Regions from separate parts of the Homo sapiens genome. Here region 1 is linked to region 2. The links are contacts of gene promoters, found by promoter capture Hi-C in human tissues and cell types (Jung and others, 2019). All regions are on one chromosome and are shown on one strand. Each heading gives the region's core, a stretch centred on a gene start or on the middle of the fragment in contact. The rest is flanking DNA. Distances are from core to core; before and after follow the strand shown.

The links. Contacts are between HindIII fragments. The study calls those that stand out against the background at their distance.
Region 1: a fragment that was not itself captured here is called in contact with the fragment with the promoter of PRSS48 in region 2 in 1 of the 25 tissues and cell types used here (adrenal gland).

What each region holds. Positions count from the first base shown.
Region 1 is chr4:151,136,894-151,141,573 of GRCh38, forward strand. It overlaps SH3D19 (SH3 domain containing 19), which reads right to left. Exons shown (of 20, transcript NM_001378122.1): 13 at 2,882-2,954; 14 at 839-969. It overlaps SH3D19-AS1 (SH3D19 antisense RNA 1), which reads left to right. Exons shown (of 2, transcript XR_001741442.2): 2 at 2,663-4,201. Among named protein-coding and RNA genes, the nearest start is that of SH3D19-AS1, 15 kb to the left of the region's middle. The HindIII fragment of the contact is 6,577 bases long and covers 1-4,542 here.
Region 2 is chr4:151,274,134-151,279,002 of GRCh38, forward strand. PRSS48 (serine protease 48) reads left to right here and starts at 3,028. Exons shown (of 5, transcript NM_183375.5): 1 at 3,028-3,091. The coding sequence starts at 3,040. All of the region lies in intron 1 of SH3D19 (SH3 domain containing 19), which reads right to left. LOC124900799 (a long non-coding RNA gene) reads right to left here and starts at 1,025. Exons shown (of 2, transcript XR_007058328.1): 1 at 1-1,025. The HindIII fragment of the contact is 14,422 bases long and covers 1-4,869 here.

The DNA.
Region 1 (4,680 bases), core at 4-2,503, 140 kb before region 2:
TTTTCTGTTAGTCTTGTTTTCTAATATTCTGATGTAATGGAATTTATTTACTTTTTCCTTCCAAATAAGCTGTTAATGCTGTTAAGCTAAATTTATTGATATTTCACAGTATCAGTAAGTTATATCAGGGACCGAGTCATCCTATTCCAATTGATACAAATGTGTGAGGGCAGTCTGATTTTATCCCCATGTTTCACACAGCCATCTGGGCTTACACACAGCTCTCACACATAGGAATGCTTTCACAAGTTAGGCCGTGAGGGTATAAAAATTCTGGTGCTTTAATATAATTTTCCTAATCAGATTAGAAATTATTTTGTGGGTACAACCATTAATGAACCACTATCTCCAATATAAATACTTCTGTATTCCCAAATAAATTTTTTTTTAAAGATGGAGATAAATAAGAATGGAAAAGATGAAAGAAACTCAAACCAAAATGTACTCCAAAGAAAAGAAGTGGTACCATAACCTCAGAGAACATCTCTACAGGATAAGCTAGTATCACTGAATTCATGTTCACTAAATGTCTCAAAGAATTACCATATATCCTTAAGTGCTTAACAACTCTCCAAGAACAGCTGATTCACCAGTTGACCTGTGGTGGTCTTTCACTTTAGGATTTCAGACAGCATTTAGGCATTAAGTTCTAACACTCCATAATATAATAATTAACCATCACCTAGTTGACCAAATCTTTATTTTTGAATTTTCCAAATGCCAAATGAATCAATGAAAGAGAACTAGAATCTGGGTTTCTAGTTATTTTTTCCAACCTACAAGTCACATAGAACCCACTGAGTATATGACCAAATTAAAACAAACACAACCCACTTACAATCACTTTGACATAGTTGGCAGGAAATATGCCAATCTGGTTTCTACAGTTCCCTCTGTACCAATCTGTATCTATCTTCTCCAGAAGATAAACAATTTCTCCAGAAGTGAGGTTCAAATCATCAACTTGCTCTGTAATATAAAATTATAGTTATGTATGATGAATCATCCTGGTTGCAGATTTGATAAAAGCACAAAGTAGCATTTAGTTGTGTCCACTGAGGCAGTTATGTTCCACTGATTCTGAGAACAGATTATACTAATCAAATTGACTTAAAAAATGCTATTCTTTTTTTGGACATTGTTATGAGCTCCCTTTTTAAAGACCAAATTAGACACATTTACCATGCTTTGATTGATGGGAAATGGTTGAAAAAAACACTATTGTGTTAGCAAATGTTTCCTACTGTGCCAATATAAAGCCGTGCTGAATACACACTGAACAATGAAAAAAGTTTATAGACATGGTATAATATTATTATTCTCAATTATGCTTAAAAATCATTTTAATTTCAAATATTAACTAAGGGAGTACTACAACTCTTTAGCAAATAAGTTTACCCATACCAAAACAAAAATCAGCCTATCAAGTGGATAAAAAGAGATTGTAAGTAAATCAGGAGTTTATTTGTAGCCTTGGATATGAAGGGCATTTTAAAAATTATTACAAAAGTACTTATATTGTGCGTGGGCATGGGTGGCTCATGCCTGTTATCTCAGCACTTTAAGAAGCTAAGGTGGGAGGATCACTTGAGGCCAGGAGTTCAAGACCAGCCTGGGCAACATAGCGAGACCATGTCCCTAGGAAAAAAAAAAATTAGCCAGGTGTAGTGGCACCCCTGTAGTCCTAGCTACTGGGGAAGCTGAGGGAGGAGGATCACTTGAGTCCAGGAGTTCAAGGTTATAGTGATTGCACCACTGCACTCAAGCCTAGGCGACAGAGCAAGATCTTGTCTCACACACACACACACACACACACACACACACACACACACACACACACAAATTACTTTGATCTCATAGGTAAGTAAGCAGCTGAGACAACTTTGAAGACAAAAGAACTTCAGTTATTAAGTTAGGATTAACTTTATTACAATTTTTTTGTTGTTGTTGTTTTTTGAGACGGGGTTTTGCTCTTGTTGCCCAGGGTGCAACGGCACAATCTTAGCTCATTGCAACCTCTGCCTCCCAGGTTCAAGTGATTCTCCTGACTCAGCCTCCCAAGTAGCTGGGATTACAGGCATGCGTCACCATGCCCGGCTACTTTTTTGTATTTATAGAGACGGGGTTTCAACATGTTGGTCAGACTGGTCTGGACTCCTGACCTCAGGTGATCCATCCGCCTCGGCCTCACAAAGTGCTGGGATTACAGGTGTAAGCCACTGTGCCCAGCCATATTACAATTGTTAATTAGTACCCACTATTTTTTTTTTTCTTTTTTGAGACGGAGTCTCGCTCTGTCCCTCGGGCCGGAGTGCAGTGGCGCGATCTCAGCTCACTGCAACCTCAGCCTCGCGGGTTCACGCCATTCTCCTGCCTCAGCCTCCCGAATAGCTGGACTACAGGCGCCCGCCACTACGCCCGGCTAATTTTTTGTATTTTTAGTAGAGACGGGGTTTCACCATGTTAGCCAGGATGGTCTCAATCTCCTGACCTCGTGATCCGCCTGCCTCGGCCTCCCAAAGTGCTGGGATTACAGGCGTGAGCCACTGCGCCCGGCCTAGTACCCACTATTTTGAAAGAGTTAAAAAGTTTGTGACTGGTAGGCAATTTGCAATGTTCATTTGTAAGGGAAAGTCTCTCTCTCTCTCTTTCTCTTTCTCAGGGAGCTTCAAAGGCAAGGGTATACAACTAAGCTTTCTGGAATGGCTGGTACAATCAACCCTTCTTGAAGTGGAGTCCTGGATAAGATGACCTCTCCAGTCTCGGACTCTATAGGCACAGAAAAATGAAGAAGGATGTCCTTGAGAGGCTAACCCCCGGCAGGGAAAAAGACTTACTCCTGGATCCTGTGGTTCTCCCACTGCATTATTTACATCCTTACCTGCTGGGAAATCATGAAGAACGACAGCATGAGGAGCACCACTGTCAACAGGCTTCTGAGCGTGGCTTGGATCCTTAGGGGGAGAAAAGGGCTGTGAATGAAGTGTGCAGGATAGATGGTGGATTTATTATTCACTCTGAGACCAATTTTTTTTTTCTCATTAGAGTCCTCTTGACACAATTACATTATGAGTACATGATGCAAACCACACAGTTGAGCCAAACAAGGGAATTATTATCAAGTTGAAGAAGAATGTGTCCTTGCTAAGGGAGGATGAAAATCTCAATTAAAATATCCCCCAGTATGTTTTCTTTTTGCTTTTTTAAGCTGAGAGAGTAAAACAAAAGGGAACTGTTTATTTATTTTGAAACAGTATCTATTCTACCCCAAAGTAGTGGTTTTTGACCTCTTTCCCTTTCAAGGATAGCTTTTTCCTTAAAACTGTGATCAAGACAGAGTCTTAAAAGTTGTGTCTTTATTAGGATGGGAAAAGAAGAAAGTTCTATGATTTATGCTCTTGCCTTTTGTAATGAAAGGAGCTAATGACTTTCAACAGAAGTATAATTCACAAAAAGTAAAATCCATTTCATTTATTACCACTTAACTAAGTGCTTTTTCTAATTTGAAAGCAATGCTACCTCCCATGCCTGGTCTGCATTTTGTATTTAATCTGAATGGTTTATTCAACAGTAGTTCTAAATAAATTAGCAAAAAGAATCTAACATTCTCTATCCATCTAGCCAAATGCCGAGATTGGCCAGAGGATAAGGCAAAGCTGAAGAGCGACCTCTTCTTATTGACTAGCAATTGTTATTCTTAGTTTCTTTATATCAAGAGACAGGCTTATCCTCATCATCATCAAATCCCACTGAAGGATATTATTTGGAGTTATAACTTAACACTCTTCAACACTGGCAAGCCTGTGAAATAAATAAAGGCAGATTTTTGTGCCCTTTCTTGTCTCTTCACCTCCTCTAATAACTCTTGTCCCCTTAGAGACGTCCTGACACATCTATACCTCTGCCCTTCCCCTGGCCATGATGCACCAGGCTGATTGCAGCGCACTGTGAATGATGGTCCACTTTCTCCATTTCAACCCTGCAGCACCTTTGCTGAGATCTTTTCTAAATCTCAGCTGCTCTTTCAACCAAAATGCACCTGCAGAAACAAAACTTTCATTCTCTCAAGTTAGGTAAACTGAAATATAACTTAAGACTCTAATGGCTAATGTAGCTTACTATATTAGCTTACTAAGAAGACCCTAACATTTTTTCATGGACTGCTTAATGCTTTTCTCTAAATAAATGAACAATATGGAAATTTCATGAATTCTGAGATATTTTAGGTCTGACATGGCTTTTTTTTCTTTGACACAGGGTCTTGCTCTGTCACCTAGGCTGTGGTGTAGTGGCACAATCACAGCTCACTGCAGCCTTGACCTCCAGGGGTTAAGTTATCCTCCCACTTCAGTCCCCAAAGTAGCTGGGACTACAGACAAGCACTACCATGCCTGGCTAATTTTTGTATTTTTTGTAGAGATTGGGTCTCGCCACGTTGCCCAGGCTGGTCTCAAATTCCTGGGCTCAGGTGATCCACCCATCTTGGCCTCCCAAAGTGCTGGGATTACAGGAGTGAGCCACCGTGCCCAGCCTGGAGTGGCTTTTCATAATTATTCAGCATGGACAACATAAGAAATGCCATATCTACAAAAAAATAAAAAATTAGCCTGGCATGGTGATACACCCCTGTGGTCCCAGCTATTAGGGATGCAGAGGTGTGAGGATCTCTTGAGCCCAGGA
Region 2 (4,869 bases), core at 1,778-4,277:
TTCATCCCCATCAAGCAGACACAAATGAAAACAAATGAATTTTAAAAACATAAATTTGGTAAAAATTCATGGTGTTGCAGTGTTTGCTTAAAAAAGCAAATGGAGAGATTTTTTTCACGTGTTCACTTCTAAAATCTTTTAAAATGTATTTAAAGAGGTAAACATCTTTATGCTACTTTACTGAGATATAGCAAACCTGGCATCTGCCCTGCCACAATAGCCCCTGCAACTGAGCTGGCCATATTTCTGCATCCCCATCTTCTCACCTTCCCATATGAGGGTACTTACCCCAAGGACAGTTAATCCATGGCCATGAACCTATATCCTGGTTAGAAAAGATAATCTGTGCCAAATAAGACGTCTTGGGAGTCTGAACTGAAAATAGGGAACAACTTGAGCAGTTTATAGTAGGACAGAAAGAAATGACATGGAATTCGGTTGAGCCATATTAATAGCAGAGAACCAGAGAGAAGATCCTGCTATGAGCTCTTAAGCTGTCATGAATCCAGAGCTCCTTTCCAGCTCTGGTCTTCAGGGTTGTCCTATGGCAGCTCCAGGTGTCCCTGTTATCCTGTTCTTATTATTCCATAGACATCTACATAAGTTTGCTAGGGCTGCTGTAACAAAGTACCACAGACTAGACGAACTTAACCAACAGAAATTTATTTCCTCACAGTTCTGGAGGCTGGAAGTCCAAGATCAAGGTATCAGCATGGCTGGTTCTTTCTGAGGGCCATGAGGGAAGGATTTGTTTCAGGCACCCTAGGCTTGTAAATAGCTGTCTTCTCCCTCTATAGATGTCACGTACATGACATTTCCTCTTCTAAGGACATCACTCATATGAGATTAGAACCCAACCTAATGACCTCTTTTTAATATAATTACCTCTTTAAAGACCTTATCTCCAAATATTGTCATACTCTGAAGTATGGAAGTGCGGTTAGGACTTCAAGATACGTTTTTTTTTTTTTGAGACGGAATCTTGCTCTGTCGCCCAGGCTGGAGTGCAGTGGCGCGATCTCGGCTCACTGCAAGCTCTGCCTCCAGGGTTCACGCCATTCTCCTGCCTCAGCCTCCCAAGTGGCTGGGACTACAGGCACTCGCCACTACACCCGGCTAATTTTTTGTATTTTTTAGTAGAGACGGGTTTTCACTGTGTTAGCCAGGATGGTCTCGATCTCCTGACCTCGTGACCCACCCGCCTCGGCCTCCCAGAGTGCTGGGATTACAGGCGTGAGCCACCATGCCCAGCCTCAAGATACATTTTTGAGGAGACATAATTCAGCTCAAAACAATAGCTTTAAAATAATCTCCTCTTGATTTAAGCTAGCTTAAGTGAGCCTCAGTTGCCTGTAACTGAATAGTTCTTACCAAAATATCTACATTTTCTGGTCTTCCATTATTATTTGAGACAGGTTCTTTCCGTCGCCCAAGCTGGAGCACAGTGGTACAGTCATAGCTCATGTAGCCTTGAACTACTGACTTCAAGTGATCCTCCTGCCTCAGCCTCCCGAGTAGCTGGGGACTTCAGGTGCACATCACTACACCAGGCTAATTTTTAAATTTTTGTAGATATAGGGTCTCACTGTATTGCCCAGGCTGATCTCAAACTCCTGGTCTCAAGGGATCCTCCCCGTTCAGCCTTTCAAAGTGCTGGGATAATAGGCGTAAGCTACCACGCCCAGCCACTTCTATTATTATTATTATTATTATTATTTTTTTTTTTTTAGACGGAGTCTCGCTCTGTCGCCCAGGCTGGAGTGCAGTGGCGCCATCTTGGCTCACTGCAACCTCCGCCTCCCGGGTTCAAGCGATTCTCCTGCCTCAGCCTCCCGAGTAGCTGTGACTACAGGTGCACGCCACTACACCCAGCTAATTTTTGTATTTTTAGTAGAGACGGGATTTCACCATGTTGGCCAGGATGGTCTCAAACTCCTGACCTCAGGTGATCCACCCGCCTCGGCCTCCCAAAGTGCTGGGATTACAGGCATGAGCCACCGTGCCTGGCCTATTAGTTTTAAACTGCTTATATGTTTCTTTCAAGCATCCCAATATTTTAAGTTGCAAGAGAGCAGTAACATTTTAATAGTTCATTGAATTCTGCCTCCACAGACCTAGCACCCTACAAACAATTGGCACAGAAAACAAAAGGCAGAGTGAAGATTTCTGAGGTAGATGTTGTGGTGTACCATCCAGACCCCCCTTTAGAACTGAAGCATTCATTCCCTTAGCAGCTAGGAGTGTTGGCTGCTGACAGTTCACAGCTAAGTCTTATTCCAAGAACTGCCAACAGAGCCACCTCACCCAAGGTAATGCCCCCTCCTAGGAGGTGGCCTGCATCCAATGATGCAGACCCCTAAGAACGCATCCTTCTTAGCTCAGTACAGAAAGTCTCTGAGGGCCACCTCAGCTCCAGAGAAACTTGTGAGATAGGCTGTGGCCTCTGTTGCAAACGCATCACAGTTCAACTCTCCCTCTAACCAATCCTACTACCCACCCAAGAGCTGCTGATCCTGAGACCACTCTAAAATAAATTTCCTGCACACAAATCTCTGTCTTAGAGTCTGTTTCCCAGGAAACTTGACTTGCAGTGCAGCTAACACTGTAACAGAAATGAAAACAAACAAACAAAAAAACTCAGAAAAATTAACCAGATACTGGGTTCATTTCCTCTTTTCCATTTCTTGCTTTTGGAGAATCCTGTCCACCTTCTATCTCCTTGCTAGAGACAGGGTCCTGTTTCTTCCAGTGCCCTCAACCAGCCACTCCTCAACACCACAGGCAGAAACCCCAGAAACCCTGCTCTCCCAGGACAGCAGGGGGCGCCACAGACCCCAGTTCCTCCCCTGGGTCCTGCAGCTGCACTTCTGAAGTCTGGTCCCTTCAGGATCTGGCAGCGGGTGAAGACCAAAGGAGAGGAGGGGGTGAAGCAGAGGAATCCATCTAGGAGAAGCTAGTTCTGGCAGCTCCCCATTGGCCTCTTCCTGGGAGCCTGAGTCCAGGAAGCAGGAAGCGCTCACTGGCTCTGAGGACAGAGACATGGGCCCTGCTGGCTGTGCCTTCACGCTGCTCCTTCTGCTGGGGATCTCAGGTGAGCGCCAGGGTGGGGTTGAGAAGGCAGAGGCAGAGGATTTTTACTAAAGAGGGCATCACATAGAACAATGTGACACTTCACCCATGGGATGTTAGTTATGAGTAGCACAGCCTGAGAAGGTCCTGAGAGGCTACTATATACCCAGCACCATTCCAATGCTCCCGATTGGAAATAGCAGTACACACACACACCCACAAGATCCCTATCTTCGTGGGACTTATAATCAATGCACATATTAAATGTGTAAATTATAAGGCTTGTTAGAAGGTAATAAGTACTATGAAAGGAAAGGGGCATCTGAAGTACAGGGGCAGGAGTGTTGCAATCTTTAGAAGGGTAGTTAAAGAAGGCCTCACTAAGAAGGAGTCATTTGAGCAGAACTGAAGGGGATAACTAAATTAAGTAAGAGGATCCAGGAAAAGAGCATCTCAAGCAGAGGGAACTGGAAGAGCAAACACTATTCTATGATTTCAGGTATATGCTTGTTCATTTATTTTTCTGGTCCACAGGGATTTAAAGGAAGGGTATACTGGCCAGGCACAGCAGCTCACGCCTGTAATCCCAGCACTTTGGGATGCCAAGGCGGGCAGATCACCTGAGATCAGGAGTTCAAGACCAGCCTGGGCAACATGGTGAAACCCCATCTCTACAAAAAATACAAAAATTAGCCGGGCGTGGTGGCGGGCACCTGTAGTCCCAGCTACTCAATAGACTGAGGCAGGAGAAGTGCTTGAGCCTGGAAAGTGGAGGTTGCAGTAAGCCGAGATAGCGCCACTGCACTCCAGCCTTAGCGACAGAGTAAGACCCCGTCCCCCCAAAAAACAGAAAGGGTATGCTGAGAGAGCAAAAAACTTAACAGGTAGCAAAGAAGAAAGATACACAAATACTGCAAAATGCCAATTCAGTTAAACCAAATAGCACAAAAGTAAACAGCTTGCAACCTCAACCGCATCTGAGGGCATCATTGTATTTATAAACTAACATACTTCATATTCCTGATGGTGACCTTGAATCAAGTAAAAGCTAAATTTGAATCTTCATAGAGCATTTTTTTTTTAAGAGACAGAGTCTCACTCTGTCACCCAGGTTAGAGTGCAGTGGTGCAATCATAGCCCACTGCAACCTCAGACTCCTGGGTTCAAGCAATCCTCCCACTCAGCCTCCCTAGTAGCTGGGACTACAGGTGTGGTTGAACCACACCTGTTGTGTTTGTGGCCCAAAAGAAGAAAAAAAAAACCCTGACTAGTATTTAGGAAGTGATTTGTGAAAAGTAAGAAAAGTCTCTAATATAGCACCTGTCTCCAACATTCCTTTTTCTACTTCTGTGCCTTATCTCTGGTCATCCCTAGTTTGAGAGTCCCATGTGACCTAGGGTTTCCTTCTGCCCTGCCTATCTCACCACATTTTTTTCCTTTTCTTTTCAGACAGGGTCTCACTCTCTCGCCCAGGCTGGAGTGCAGTGGCATGATCTAAACTCACCGCATCCTCCACCTCCCGGGCTCAAGCAATCCTCCTGCTTCAGCCTCCCAAGTAGCTGGGACTACAGGCATGCACCATCATGTCAGGCTAATTTCTTTATATTTTTTGTAGAGACGGTGTTTGGCCATGTTGCCCAGGCTGGTTTTGAACTCCTGGACTTGAGCAATCCACCCACCTCAGCCTCCCAAAGTGCTGGGGTTATAGGCGTGAGTCACTGTGCCCAGTCAATCTTACCACTTTCATTTGTCTATTGGTTCATTTATGTAGTCATGCAAATATTCACTGAGAACCTGTCT